4 separate regions of the Homo sapiens genome follow, and regions 1, 2 and 4 are each linked to region 3. The links are contacts of gene promoters, found by promoter capture Hi-C in human tissues and cell types (Jung and others, 2019). All regions are on one chromosome and are shown on one strand. The core of a region is centred on a gene start or on the middle of the fragment in contact, and the rest is flanking DNA. Distances in the headings are between cores, read along the strand shown.

Evidence for each region. Contacts are between HindIII fragments. The study calls those that stand out against the background at their distance.
Region 1: a contact is called between a fragment that was not itself captured here and the fragment with the promoter of SHROOM3 in region 3, in 1 of the 25 tissues and cell types used here (lymphoblastoid cells).
Region 2: a fragment that was not itself captured here is called in contact with the fragment with the promoter of SHROOM3 in region 3 in 2 of the 25 tissues and cell types used here (neural progenitor cells and spleen).
Region 4: a contact is called between the fragment with the promoter of CCNI here and the fragment with the promoter of SHROOM3 in region 3, in 1 of the 25 tissues and cell types used here (heart left ventricle).

The regions. Positions count from the first base shown.
Region 1 is chr4:77,187,028-77,190,388 of GRCh38, forward strand. The region is part of intron 3 of LOC107986292 (a long non-coding RNA gene); the gene reads left to right. Among named protein-coding and RNA genes, the nearest start is that of CCNG2, 32 kb to the left of the region's middle. The HindIII fragment of the contact is 3,395 bases long and covers 290-3,361 here.
Region 2 is chr4:76,965,332-76,968,901 of GRCh38, forward strand. The region is part of intron 1 of SEPTIN11 (septin 11); the gene reads left to right. Among named protein-coding and RNA genes, the nearest start is that of SEPTIN11, 17 kb to the left of the region's middle. The HindIII fragment of the contact is 3,733 bases long and covers 117-3,570 here.
Region 3 is chr4:76,433,577-76,436,846 of GRCh38, forward strand. It overlaps SHROOM3 (shroom family member 3), which reads left to right and starts at 1,653. Exons shown (of 11, transcript NM_020859.4): 1 at 1,653-2,644. The coding sequence starts at 2,477. The HindIII fragment of the contact is 12,167 bases long and covers 1-3,270 here.
Region 4 is chr4:77,074,739-77,077,919 of GRCh38, forward strand. CCNI (cyclin I) reads right to left here and starts at 1,251. Exons shown (of 7, transcript NM_006835.3): 1 at 734-1,251. RefSeq lists silencers at 579-728, 789-1,138 and enhancers at 1,319-1,548, 1,447-2,417. The HindIII fragment of the contact is 11,169 bases long and covers 1-3,181 here.

The DNA of each region.
Region 1 (3,361 bases), core at 737-3,236, 750 kb after region 3:
TACTGAAGGCCATATCGCCTGTCAGTGGGTCCTTCCCTGAAATTACCCTTTCTGGTTCTAAGAGCTACTCTTTCTCCTTGTACCTTCAGGCCTAGAGGTGGTCACAGCTCCTGCTGTAGCTGGCCCCAGGGATGCTACATTACTTCTTATATATTTTCCTTACTTGTCTACACCTTCATAAATAGTCCCTTTATTAAACTCTCAATTACACCATTTAAGTGTACCATCTATTTCTAGTTACAGCAACCTACCCATTTATTTAACTCTTCATTCCTTCAAAAACCATGATTGAGTTACCATTTCTAGCCAGGAACTATTGTGGGGACTGGGGATACAAAGGCAAATAATACATTCTGTTTTCCATGAGCTCACTGCTGGCAAAGGACACAGACAAATGAACAGATGGTGACAATGGAGCTGTAATAAGAGCAGTGTTAGCATTTTTGCTTTGAAAGGACATGAGGGAGGTCCTTAGTTCTCTTTAAGGACTAGCTGTGGTCTGAATGTTTGTGCCCCGACCCACTTCCCAAATTCACATGTTGAAATCGTCACCCCCAAGATGATGTTATTAGGAGGTGTGTCTTTGGGGGGTGATGAGGTTACTGGGGGAAGCCCTCATGAATGGGATTAATAGCCTTGTAAAAAAGAACCCAGAGACCTCCCCTGCTCCTTTTACCATGTGAGTACACAGCAGGAAGGTGCCATCTATGAACCAGGAAGTGGGCCCTCACCAGATACTGAATTGTCACATTGATCTTGGACTTCTCAGCTTCCAGAACTGTGAGAAAGAAATTTATTGTTTATAAGCTATCCTATCTATGTTATTTTGTTATACCAGCCAGAATGGACTAAGACAGGGATCTAGCAGAGAAATGCTTTCTGAAGAAGAAAAAATTGGCTGGGTGCAGTGGTTCACACCTGTAATTTCAGCATTTTGGGAGGCTGAGGTGGGAAGATCGCTTGTGGCCAGGAGTTTCAAACCACCCTGGGCAACATGGAGAGACCCCATCTGTACAAAAAAAATTTTTTTTTTAAAATTAGCCAGGTGTGGTGGTGCATGCCTGTGGTCCTAGCTACTCTAGAGGCTAAGTCAGAAGGATCACTTGAGCCCAGGAGGTGAAGACTGCAGTGAGCTGTGATTGTGCCACTGCACTCCCATCTGGCCTGTGGAGTAAGACCCTGTGTCAGAAAAAAAAAAAAAAAAAGAAAACCTTGCTTTTGCTTTCACTGTTGGAAGTCAAAGTGGAATAAGATAAGTGGGAATTAGCCAGGATGGGGAAGATGAAAGAGAGATGAGAGTGTACTAGAAGTGGGAATAGTTTTGGAAAAATGCTAGGAGGAGGATCAACTAAGGGGGTCAGAGCAGAGATGGAATTTGAAGACTGGTAGAAGACTGGCTCAGGCAGTAAACGGCTTTTTTTCTCTACTCTTTTTGCAGGAATTTTGTCTTTATCCTGAACGTGATGGGAAGCCAGGGAAGGCTTTTGTGTTTTAGAAACGTCTCTCTGGATGCAGTGTATAGAAGGACCTAGAGAGTGGGCCCTGAAGGTAGTGAAAACAGTTGGGAGGGCAGAGCAAGGCGGTAGGCGAGAAATGAGGGCTGAAACTAGGGTTGTTGCAGAGTGGATGCTGACGAGGGAGAACTCAGGAGAAGGTCTACGTGGGTAGCCTTTTTACCACAGTACTTGCAGCTGCTCTCTCATTTTAAACTGGGGATGTATAAATATAGCCGTGGCAGGGAATTGGAAAGTTTTAGCTCTGTATACATTCTAAATTAGGCTTGTACATTTTGGAGTTCAATATCTTATTAATGTTGTAAAAGATAGAATAAATACTATTATATATCTGTCTACGCAGTAGCACCAGCTCCATCCAAATAATGAGTTAGACAGTAACAAATCTCAGATTCCAAAGGGCAGAGCACCAACACAGAGGGTTCTTCCTGCTGTGCTGGCGTGGACAGTGGCCACCTTTCACCACCTGTTCCCCTGGATGCTTTTGTTCTTCTATGCTGGCAGAACTAGGATCCAGGCAGGCTTCACAATGCAGCCAGAGTTGCTGATAGTTTTGGCGAATAACCTACTGAAATTAATCCAGCTCAGAATATGAGTTCAGGAAACTGGAAGTAGAATTGTTCTTTACACAAACCTCATTTCCCCTCCCTGTTTCCTCCTCCACAGACTCAGGTTGTGGTTGGGGGGAATCAAGAGACAGAAAAGAAAAGGGATGGGTGGATTAGGATTCGGAAGCAGTTTGTCTTGGCTTGGAAGTAATAGAATTGAAATAAAGCTATTGAAAAGAAAATTGGGGTGCTTTCACCACACCTCTTCTCTCTGTGCCGCCATCCCTAAGGATAGCTCGTGTGGCAGGAAGAGCATTTTATCTTTCTTCTCTTGTGGGTTTCAGGGGTCTTTCACGGGAAAAAAGGGATAATAGGGCCACAGGGAGTGGTTACTGGCTCTACCATCTCAATACATCCCTCTAAACTCACTTTCAGACAATCCTAGCTGTAGTACTTAGTGCTCAAGAGCAGGGCCTTGGAATCCAAACAACCTGGGTTTAAATCCTCACTCTGACTATTCCTCTTGGCAGCTGTGTAACTTGGGGAAAGTTGCTTCATCCCTTCAAACCTGACTTTTCTCATTCATAACATAGGAATATTAATAGCTATCTCATAGAGGCAAATGGGGGATTAAATAAGCCAAAGTATGTAGAGTACCTGGCTCAGAGTAAGCAGAGGGTGGTAGCTTTTTTTTTCTTCTTTTTTTTTGAGACAGAGTGTCACTGCATCGCCCAGGCTGGAGTGTAGTGGCACAGTCTCAGCTCACTGTAACCTCCGCCTCCCAGGTTCAAGTGATTCTCGTGCCTCAGCCTCCTGAGTAGCTGGGATTACAGGCACGTGCTATCGTGCCTGGCTAATTTTTGTATTTTTAGTAGAGATGGGGTTTCACCACGTTGGCCAGGCTGATCTCCAACCCCTTACCTCAAGTGATCTGCCCACCTGGGCCTCCCAAAGTGCTGGGATTACAGGCATGAGCCACTGTGCCCAGCCAAAGGGTGGTAACTTTTAATTTTTGGGCTGTAAATTAGAGATGGAATGGCCAAATTAGGAGTCCAAGCTGGGCCTCCACTTTTGTGCTTGTCAGCTACATAGGCTAGGGGGCAGTGGGAGCCTCAAGATCACATCCTCAGGCATGGTCCAGGGCCCCATCCTCTGGCCTTGAAGAGTGATGACTAACTGTGGAATGTTGCCTGGCTTCTCTACAGTGAGGATTGTTATGTGTCTAATTTTGAACTGGACTATCAGGTAGTTGAGCTTTCTATCCAGGAAGTCAACTGAGAAAACACTGGCATAAACATG
Region 2 (3,570 bases), core at 733-3,232, 530 kb after region 3:
TCCAGGCTACTTGGGAGGCTGAGGATGGAGAATCACTTGAACCTCGGAGGCAGAGGCTGCAGTGAGCTGAGATTGTGCCACTGCACTCCAGCCTGGGCAACAGAGCCAGACTCCATTTCAAAAAAAAAAAAAAAAGGAGTCATTTATCAAATTTTGTCTTTTGGGCTTAGAATTTATGCCTATTACTGGTGGTATAATATTATGTATTATTGCCTATATAATACATATTATATATAATTTATTATAGGAAATACTTATTTTAATATTTCTATTTCTAAAAGAAACTTGTGTATCAAGTACATTTTAGTCATATGAACAGACACATTGAAGGAAATAATGCTTGCACCAATGATATTTAAAAGTGCAGTTTTCCTCACAACATAAAGCAAGAATTGTTGCTATGCTTTTATAGTTTAATTTAGGAGCCAATAGTGATTTTCTCTCATGACAGAGTGCAGAATATGTATATTCTAAATTTGGAACCCTATACACGGTATCTTAGGATTTAAAGGGAATGGTTTTGTGATGGTAAAAGGATCTTGTATCATCGGAAATGCTCTCAGGGCTTGGCTCAGCTGTCTATTGATGTAAAAAGATAATGTGCTTTAGAAAAAGAGCTATATTGAAATTTTCACCAACTTTCTGATGGACAACTGCAAGCTTTCAGCTATAAGAGGCTGCCATTTCTTTTACATGGTTTTGTCTCCAGCAGAGTCTGCCCTTTGTGTTCCCTTAGGCTTTGTTAACTATGTTCCTGGGAGAGAAGGAAAGTCTGTGTTTCATCTCATCATCTGTGTTGCAGTTTAGTCCAGTTTGCTTTATTCCATGGTGAGTGGAGAGAGTAAGTAGTTGGATGGCGCCCTACATTTTAATGTTACCACAACTCAAGATTTATGCTAGTTTTGCAAAGAATTCTCTCATGAAATGAGTTTTATCTCCACTTGACAAGAGACAGTTGAATCCACAGTAGGGCTAAGAAGAAGATTTAGGAAGATATTTGGTCAAATTAGTTATCCTGTGCTTTTTATGCAGGATAGAGACAGGAAACTGTTAAGGCTTGTAAAATGACTATGACCTGATTAGGCAAATATAGCAACTATTTTCAGCAAAGAAGCCACAAGATGAGTATAGCTGACTTTTTTTTTTTTTAATGTATAAAGTTTGGAGATTTTCCAGTGATTTTCTAATAGACCAAATTTAAATCTAACAATAATACATCTTGAAAAAAATTAAAAATTTATGTAATCAGCCAGGCATGGTGGCTCACACCTGTAATTCCCAGCACTTTGGGAGGCCGAGGAAGATAGATCACTTGAGCCCAGGAGGTTGAGACCAGCCCCGGCAACATGGTGAAACCCCATTTCTCAGAAAAAATACAAGAATTAGCTGGGAGGTGGTGGCGCTCACCTGTTGTCCCAGCTACTCCGGTGGCTGAGGTGGGAGGATCGCTTGAGTCTGGGAGTTTCAGGCTGCAGTGAGCCGAGATTGTGCCACTGTACTCCAGCCTGGGAGACAGAGGGAGCCCCTGTCTCAAAAAATATTAAGTAGTCTAGATCTCAGTTAATGCTTATGCTTTATTGTAGTTAGAAAAGTGCTTAACCTGGCCTGTAATCCCAGCACTTTGGGAGGCCGAGGTGGGCAGATCACTTGAGGTCGGGATTTTGAGACCAGCCTGGCCAACATGGCAAAACCGTGTCTCTACTAAAAATACAAAAATTAGCCAGGTGTGGTGGCTCACACCTGTAATCCCAGCTACTTGGGAGGCTGAGGCACGAGAATTGCTTGAGTCCAGGAGGCAGAGGTTTCAGTGAGCCAAGATCATGCCCCTTTACTGCAGCCTGGGTGACAGAGTGAGACTCCATCACAAAAAAGAAAAGAAAAAGTGCTTAACCTGATGTAGCTATAACATTAATAAGAAATAGAAATTTATCTAACTTTCTCTTTAGTTAATGGCCAATGGTTTATACACAGTTTTGGTTAAGCTTCAATTAGGTTCCGTGTTGAATTATTGATGGCATGGTAAGATGATAGTAAGGGAGGCAAATGTGTAAGCCATCTATGAATGAGCTTCATTATTTAGCTTATTTATTTGAGGGAGAAAAAGTACCAAAAAGGCAACCCACATTCTTCAGTTAAACTGCTGGAAAAACACATGCCACCTCTTGGCTCTGACTAGGAAATGGGGGCCTGATGGTGCCATAGTCTTCAGTTTTTCAAAAGAAGAGATGGACATTTGGAATTTGATGTGAAATTTCCACATCTGACAATGTTGGCAACTAAATGTTTTAAAAATACTGTGTGGGTCACATAAACACATTTGCTGGTTGAGTCTGCCAATTTGCAATCTGATTTCCATTGGAAATAAATTTATTTGTTTTTCTTGTATTTGAATAAAGGAACCATTAATAGTTTTTTTTTTTTTGGTATGCCTTTTAGAATGATTTAACATTTGAACAATTTAAGCTTTTTGTGTGTGCAGAAAATGTGGCTGCTTTTAAAATACAAGTGAAGCAAGTGCTTGAACTCTGATATTAAAACATATAGATTGGTTGAGGACAACATCAACATTTTTGAATTGTTTCTGTAACAGGATTTCTCCAATACAGGCCCGGCCATAAGAGAGCAAATTTGGAGAACCAAAAGTTGATGTATGGTGTGAGCAGGCCCACAGCTGAGGGAGTGGGAGGAATTCTAGAGTGTGTGGTAGCCAAGCAAATGTGGCTCCGCAAAAACATATGCTATATATAGTGAATGGGGTTGGATTTTCTATTTTTGGTTGAGTTCCAATGACAGTTAATGGCTGTTCCTATAGGCCATGAAATTATTTATGAATTCGGCAGTGGGACGATATAAAATGCAAGTTGATATAGGTAGAATAAAATTTGTTACCAAATTTCAACAAATTATTAGTGCTAGAGCCAGAAGGGCCTTCAAAGGTCACCTTATAAAGGACCTTCCTTTAAGATGAGGAAACTGAGGCCTGGGGAATTGAGGCTTAAATTTCCCATTAATCCTTATTGAGGCCTAAGGACTTAAGTTGAGGCTTAAATTTCCTGTTAATCCTTCCCTCTACAGCTGAAACCCAGCATCCTCCCTTCTTTTCGGTCTTCCTGCCTATACAAAAATGCATCTTCTACGAACTATTAGTGACAATTAGAGTCTCAGAAAAACAAAAAAGGCAGATGTTTTGTAAGCAGACTATTTAGAAAACATCTTTCTAAAAGGTTGATTTAGGCTGTCTTTCTAATTATTGGAACATTTTTATTGATAAAATTTCTGTTGTTTTTGTTATGAGTTTTGAGACTCTTCTTTTCCGAAGCCTACTCTTTCATAACCTTTTTAAGAAGCAAAAAGCCAGTGAGATCATTAACAGTAAAAGAAAAAGATGTGGCAAAATTGCTCTTGATTTTACAGAATGTCCTAGTAGTGGGTTGAACCACATGAAAGTTGATATCCAGCCATTTCTCAACTACAAAAATAGTAGCTTCATGTGATTCAAGATGGTAGCTTGAGCAAAATGGTAATAAGGAGTATTGATGTATCTTCCTATTCTTAAAGAAATCCGTGGCA
Region 3 (3,270 bases), core at 403-2,902:
TCATATTATCTTTTCCTTATTTCCTTTGCCTTTAGCTTCATTACTTTTTTTGTTTATTATTTTTTAAATTGACAACTAAAAATTATATATACTTATGGTGTACCACATGATGTTTTGATATAAGTATGCATTGTAAAATGGCTAAATCAAGGAATTAACCTATTACCTCACATACTAATTTTTTTTGTGGTGAGAGCACTTAAAATCTAATCTTAGCAATTTCCAAATATACAATACATTGTTATAACTATGGTCATCATGCTGTACAATAGATCTCTTGAGCTTATGCCTCCTAACTGAAATTTTGTATAGCTATGTTACTTTTAATATTAAATGTGGATTCTGTAAAATCCCAGTTTTTACAAAATGTATTAGGAGTAACATAATAAGAGCCTCATAAATTAATTTTTTCAGAAAGAAAGCTGTTCATTTACCTAGGACTTTTATTTAAAATACATATGTTCTTTGAAATGAAAGAAAAGCTAATGTTTCTCCATTTATTCTAACTTACAAATTAAGCTGTAAAAGAAAACCACAATAGAAATTGCGTAAATTACCCTTAAGAATCAGCCAATTTTTACCACATACTTTCATTTGGTACACCTTAGGTTTCCTTATGTTTCCATTCACATACTACCATTACATAAGGTTTTACTTTTTTTTTTTTTTTTTTGTCTTTGAGCCCTTCAAGTGAAGTTACCATTGAAAATCAAACAATACCTGTCCAGTGTTGTAAATTAAATATCGTGTAGTTTGATATCATATACCTGCCTTTCCATATCAGCCTTTCATTAATTATAAGTACAAACACCAAAATAATTGTTATCAAGCCCCACAGTAGTTTTTAACTTCAGTTTTCAACTTAATTCTCATTATCCCATACTTTTAAACAGAAAAAAGTTTTAGTACATATATTACCTGGAAGTAATTCTAATCTGTTCCAATAACTAAATAGCTGAGGCTTCTGGGTTAGATATGGTTATCTTCTACTGTTCAAATTTTTAATACAAAGCATGAATGTTAAATTTGTATATAACATTATTACAAAATGACACTGGTAACATGAAATCAGAACAACATTCTTTCCCGAGTACCTAGTACTTACCCACAAGGCATTGTAGATTTCTTTTCATTTAAAGAGTGGATAACAATCTTGGAGTAGATAACAATGAAAACCTAGAAAAAAAAACCCACCTCCTGTTTTTATTGAGTCAAACAAGCAGAACTTTGATTGGAAAGTCCCATTTCATATATTACACTGGTAGTATTTTCTTCTAACGAAAAAAAAAAAGCCCTTGTGCCACCACCTTGACATGTACTTAAACGTTTACCCAAATCACTTAGGCATTGCTTCTCAAACTTGGCTGCATAGCAGAATTGCCTGGAGGGTTTTTAAAAACACAAATGCCTATGTCTCACTCCCTGAAATTCTCCTTTAATTGGTACGAGGCGGGGCTATTCTAGGAACTATTTTCTATCCCTTGGCAATTAGCCATCTGTATAGTATTTTTAACTTCCTACGTGTTATTAACTGTAAGACTGTTTGAATTGTCAGGTCTTTGTGGTGAGCTGAATTCTGCATGGCAGTGCTTACTGTGCAGAAAGGTTGCAATGCCTCACTTTGCCTTAATCCATGTTCCTCTAACTTCCTTACTCTTTCTCTCAAGAGGAGGCAAGTGGCTGTGGCGGCCGCAGCAGTGGCTGATCATCACTGAAAATACCAAAGAAAAGAACTGAGCTGCCTCCTTCATATTTTTTCCATTGAGGATTAATTTACCGTGCTTTTTCATTTTCTCTACATCCTGCAAAAGTTTTTTTCTCTCCTAAGAAACAAACTATGAACTGATTGTTGAAAAAAAGAAGTAAAAAGTTTTAGCACAGCTTCTCTGTCTCTTCGGGACAAGTTAGAAAATTCTGAAGTGAGCCGAAGCATAGTAAGTGCTTTCTTTCTTTTTAAGCTACTTCTGGGGAGGGAGGAGGCTATTGTAATGGTAAATTTCACTCCGAGAGGAAGAAAGGGTTGATAATCAATCAAAAATGAGGTATTCCTTTGAGTATTTGTGATTTTCTTACTATATTGTAAGATGCTTTTAATTTTCTCTGTAAAATAGGCAGAAATGGTTTTAGTGTGTGTATGTGTGAAATAAAAGCTCAGAAAAGCAATCTTCAGAGCGCCACTGAAGGAAGTTTTGACGAACGGAGTAGAGATGTATACCACTTGGGGGCTTCAGTGAGAACCCAGAATTCCTGGAGGAGGATTTACATTCAGAAATGTTGAAGTGAAAATTCCTTCTGGTTCAGCATCTTGGAGTTCAGCTTGGAAGAACATTTTACGTATGGAAGAATTTGCTTCTCCAAACCTCTCTTTTGGCCATTGTGTGTCCTGAAGGATGGGACAACTTGTGCTGTAGAAGCACTGCTTGCCTGAGTTTGCTTCAGGCATTTTAAATTTAACTTGAGGGATCATGTGTTTGGCATGATGAGGACCACTGAAGACTTCCACAAGCCTAGTGCCACATTAAACTCTAACACGGCCACCAAGGGAAGGTACATTTATCTGGAGGCATTCCTGGAGGGAGGAGCTCCCTGGGGTTTTACTCTAAAGGGTGGCCTGGAGCACGGAGAACCATTAATCATCTCTAAGGTATGTTTCTTTTTCCAATATTGCCTTTATTCAAATTGTTTTTTTCAACTTGTCAGATTTGTCAAAAATGCAAAATAATGAGAACTGCCTTAATATAACTTAATTTGCTGTTTCATGCCTTTCTGATTATCTAGAAATATTTTGGATAGCCTGGGATTTGAAAGAAAAATGTGTCTAGCTCATTTATTCTATGAAATCCGAAGAAAAATATGCCTGTTTGATGGATAATCTTCTCTTTTTGTGAATGAAATCGCATACAATCAGTTACCACATGAGCTTTTCAGTTATAAATCAGATTAAAGATTAATAACATGGTTAAGATGGTGGCATGGTATATATTTGTGCATTCAAAAATATCTGCTTTTTCTCTCTTCAACTGAAAATAGCATCTAAAAATATTTTAAGTTTGCTTATAATTCTGGATAATAGATTGCATAAATACCATGTGTTGCTTTTTTTCCCCACACTCAGAAAGGAGAATTAAATCAGCTTTCAGCATAACTCAAGATCAAAACATTTCTGCCTCTCCTATTTATCTGTATATTTGAATCCCTTTTTAAACCTTAGTCATCCTGCAGCATACCTCAATTCTTCATTTATCTTTTGGTGTGGGTAGTCATACCAAT
Region 4 (3,181 bases), core at 1-2,500, 640 kb after region 3:
AAAACATAAACATTTTAGTTCAAACCCCTTCAGAGTCTGAATCCATCCTACCTCCCGAAACACCTTCCACTGTTTTGATACCCAATTGTCAACTTCTGCCAAAAGGATCTGTAACGGAGCCCCCTAGCTCCAGCGGAGGCTCCTCTGTCCTCCTTTCAAATTCCAGTTATTTAATCTAGCCTTTAGAGCACAACTCAAATCTCACCTCCCCCGGATTCCCCCCACCCACCCGCCCCAAGCCCTGGGTAACGTTGCCCTCCCCCGAATTTCACAGCACCGGAGGTTCACCCCATTCATTTGGCATTCAGTCTGCCGTGCAAAGTTAGTAATCCTCCTGGTGTCCCCGGAGAATCGTTCAACCTGAGGGTGGGGGTGTGTCCCCTTCTTTGTGTATTAACACGGGCTCGTAGAGCCTCCAACACGCACTATAGAGTAGCTAATTTGCCGCTGCCACAAAAAAAAGTTACTCGCTGACAGAAAAACTGGCCCGAAAAGGAACACAGTAGTGCCGTTTTCAAGTGGGCAGGTGACGGGTCTGTCTGGGCCGGAGAGGACGAAGAGGGCGGCCCCGAGGTTCCCCGGGCTGGGGGATGCGGGAGGGTGGGTCTCCGGCGAGCAGCGCGCGGCCAAGGGCGCTGCCACGGGGGCGGCGCGGGGGGAGCAGCGGGGCCCCAGCGCGTCGACGCCGGCCGCGGAGACGCGTCGAGCCCCCGCCCCCGCCCCCGCCCCTCACCTTCTCCTCCTCTTCCTCCTCCTCCTCCTCCCCGGCAGAGCTGTAGGCCTCACAGTGGTGACGCGGGGTCATCCGGGGGCCCGTTACCACCTCATTCTCATAGGCGCGCGGAGGCGGTGCGCGCGGGACGACTCGGCCAACTGAGGAGGGAGAAAGGGGAAGCGGATCGGGGGGCGCGGGCGCGGGCGCTGGCGCTCGAGCGGGACGCACGGCTGCGGCCGCTGGGTCGGTCAGCGAATTAGTTCCATGATGACCCCCGGCCTGAGGCCGCCGCCGCTCGAGCCCGGGTTGGGAGGGGGCTCCCTCTCGCCATAGGGCGGCGGGGGCCGGGGAGAGGCGGGGGGTGAGACCGGCTCTGCCCCTGCCCGGGGAAAGCGCCTCCGAGGGGAAATGGTGAAAGGGGGGGAGGGGAGAAAAGAAAAGAAAAAAAAAAAAAGAAAGGGGAAAGGGGGGAAAAATAAGAAAAAGCGAGACAGAGGCGCTGCCGCGTCCGCTCGCGGGGAAGGCTGGGGAGGGAGGGGAAGAGAGGGGAAGGGAGGAAGAAGTGCCGGCTTCCTCGGCTCCGCCCTCGCGGACCGATTCCTAGACTCGCCCACTCCTTGTAAACTACGCGGACTTGGTCTTTCACCCTTCCTGTTCCTCCCCGCCGCCTTCCCGGTCCAACGAAAGTACAGAGAAGTGCGGCCGAAAGGAGACGGGCTGGGGAAGTCGTTGGCACTAGGATGGAAGGAGGGAGGACGTTTTCTCGTGGCTAAGAAAAGCCGAAGGTCCGTGGACTCATTTTCCTTGAAGGAGCGGAAGGGTTGCTTGCAGACCGCACGGTGACGTCAGCGTCTCTGGGCCCCCACTGAGGGGGCGTGCGGTGGCCGGAGAGTGCGCTGCGCATGCGCCTGGGGAAGAAAGAAGCGGCCGAGCGCTGCGCTTGGGGGAGGGGATTTCACGATCCGCTCCTGTGGTCCAGCTTTACAGCAGCTTGGTTTTATCTAGCCCTACTCGTCCCCAGGCTCTTAGAAGGATTCACTGGGAAGGGGCTACTGATCTCTTGGGTGGAGATCTTGCAGATTTGTTGACCTAGCAAAGTATTACGTGTTCTTACCGTTGACATGTAAATAGAATTGCGGTTTTTCTCACTGCCACATTGTGTGGGTGGAGGGAGATTCTAAAGGGTTTTAGGAATCGGAAAATTAGGGAGAATCAAATCATGGGTGCTTAAGGCCTCAGTGAAACACTGTAAATTATACTGCTGACGGCGAGGAACCTGCTTGGCAATGTGGCAAGGGGATTTTATCCACTCAACCAACACGTCTGAGTATTTCCGAATAGGTTTTATTACCAGGTGCTTAAAGAATGTGTGGTGACATAAATGGGTTTTATTTGGGGTTCTGTTAGTACAAACGGTAACTTTTTGCTATTTTGATTGTTTTAATTATTTAAAAATATGTAGTATTACAGAGTTTTGAAAGAGGAAGAGCTAGATCTCAACCATTTATAGAAGTCTCGTTTGTTTTTTCCATTTGTTTTTTATATAGTTATTTTAACTGTCAGTGAAAAAATATGTGTTGAGTTTATTTAGTGGCCAGACTCAGCAAACTGGAAGTAGCCAAGACAGACATAGCTCCTGCCTTCATGGAGTTTACAGTCCAAACAGAGGATAACCATTGAGCTAATTATCACTATGTAAAATTACCAAGTACATTTACTTGTTTACTTGTGCATGTATCCCCTCCCTAGAATATAAGGTCGCAGGCGGCAGGGATCTTGCATGTTTCACCCTCTATCCCTGTGTATAAAAGGCTCTCAATATTTGACCAAGTAAACAATTCTGGTATTAAAACCGTTAAGATGGAAAATCGCCGGCTGCTGTGGAAACGCTTGCCTTTCCGCCTGGTTTGGGATATCAGAGAAGGTTTTTCTGAAGAAGTGACATTTAAGATGAGACTTGAAACCACTGGGCAAAGAATGATACAAGCAGAGGAAGTTATGTGAAAAGGCTCCGAAGCTGAGACGTTCTAAAAATCTCTGAAAGCTAGTGTGGCTGGCCCTCAGACAACTGAGGCAGGATGTGGAAGCAGAGGACAGATGCCATAGAACAGAAGAAGGAATGGGAAGCCCTAGGAGGATTTCAAGTGGGTTGTATCCTTTTTTTTTCTTTTTTTCACTTCATGTAGCCTATTATTATATGGTCTTCATTCAAAAAAGCCACCATTTTTCTGCATGTTACTCTTGAGACTGTAGCATTTCTGCATAATACTATTGAGAGTGTAACATAATTCCATTGTTAGACCATGAAATTGCTTCTGATTTTCACTCCAATAAGAATAATGCAAATTCCACTCCTAAATATATACCCAAGAGAAAGGAAAATATTTGTCCATGCAAAAACTTTTTTACAAACGTTAGCATTATTCATAATAGCCAAAGATGAAACAACCTAAATGTTCATCAGCT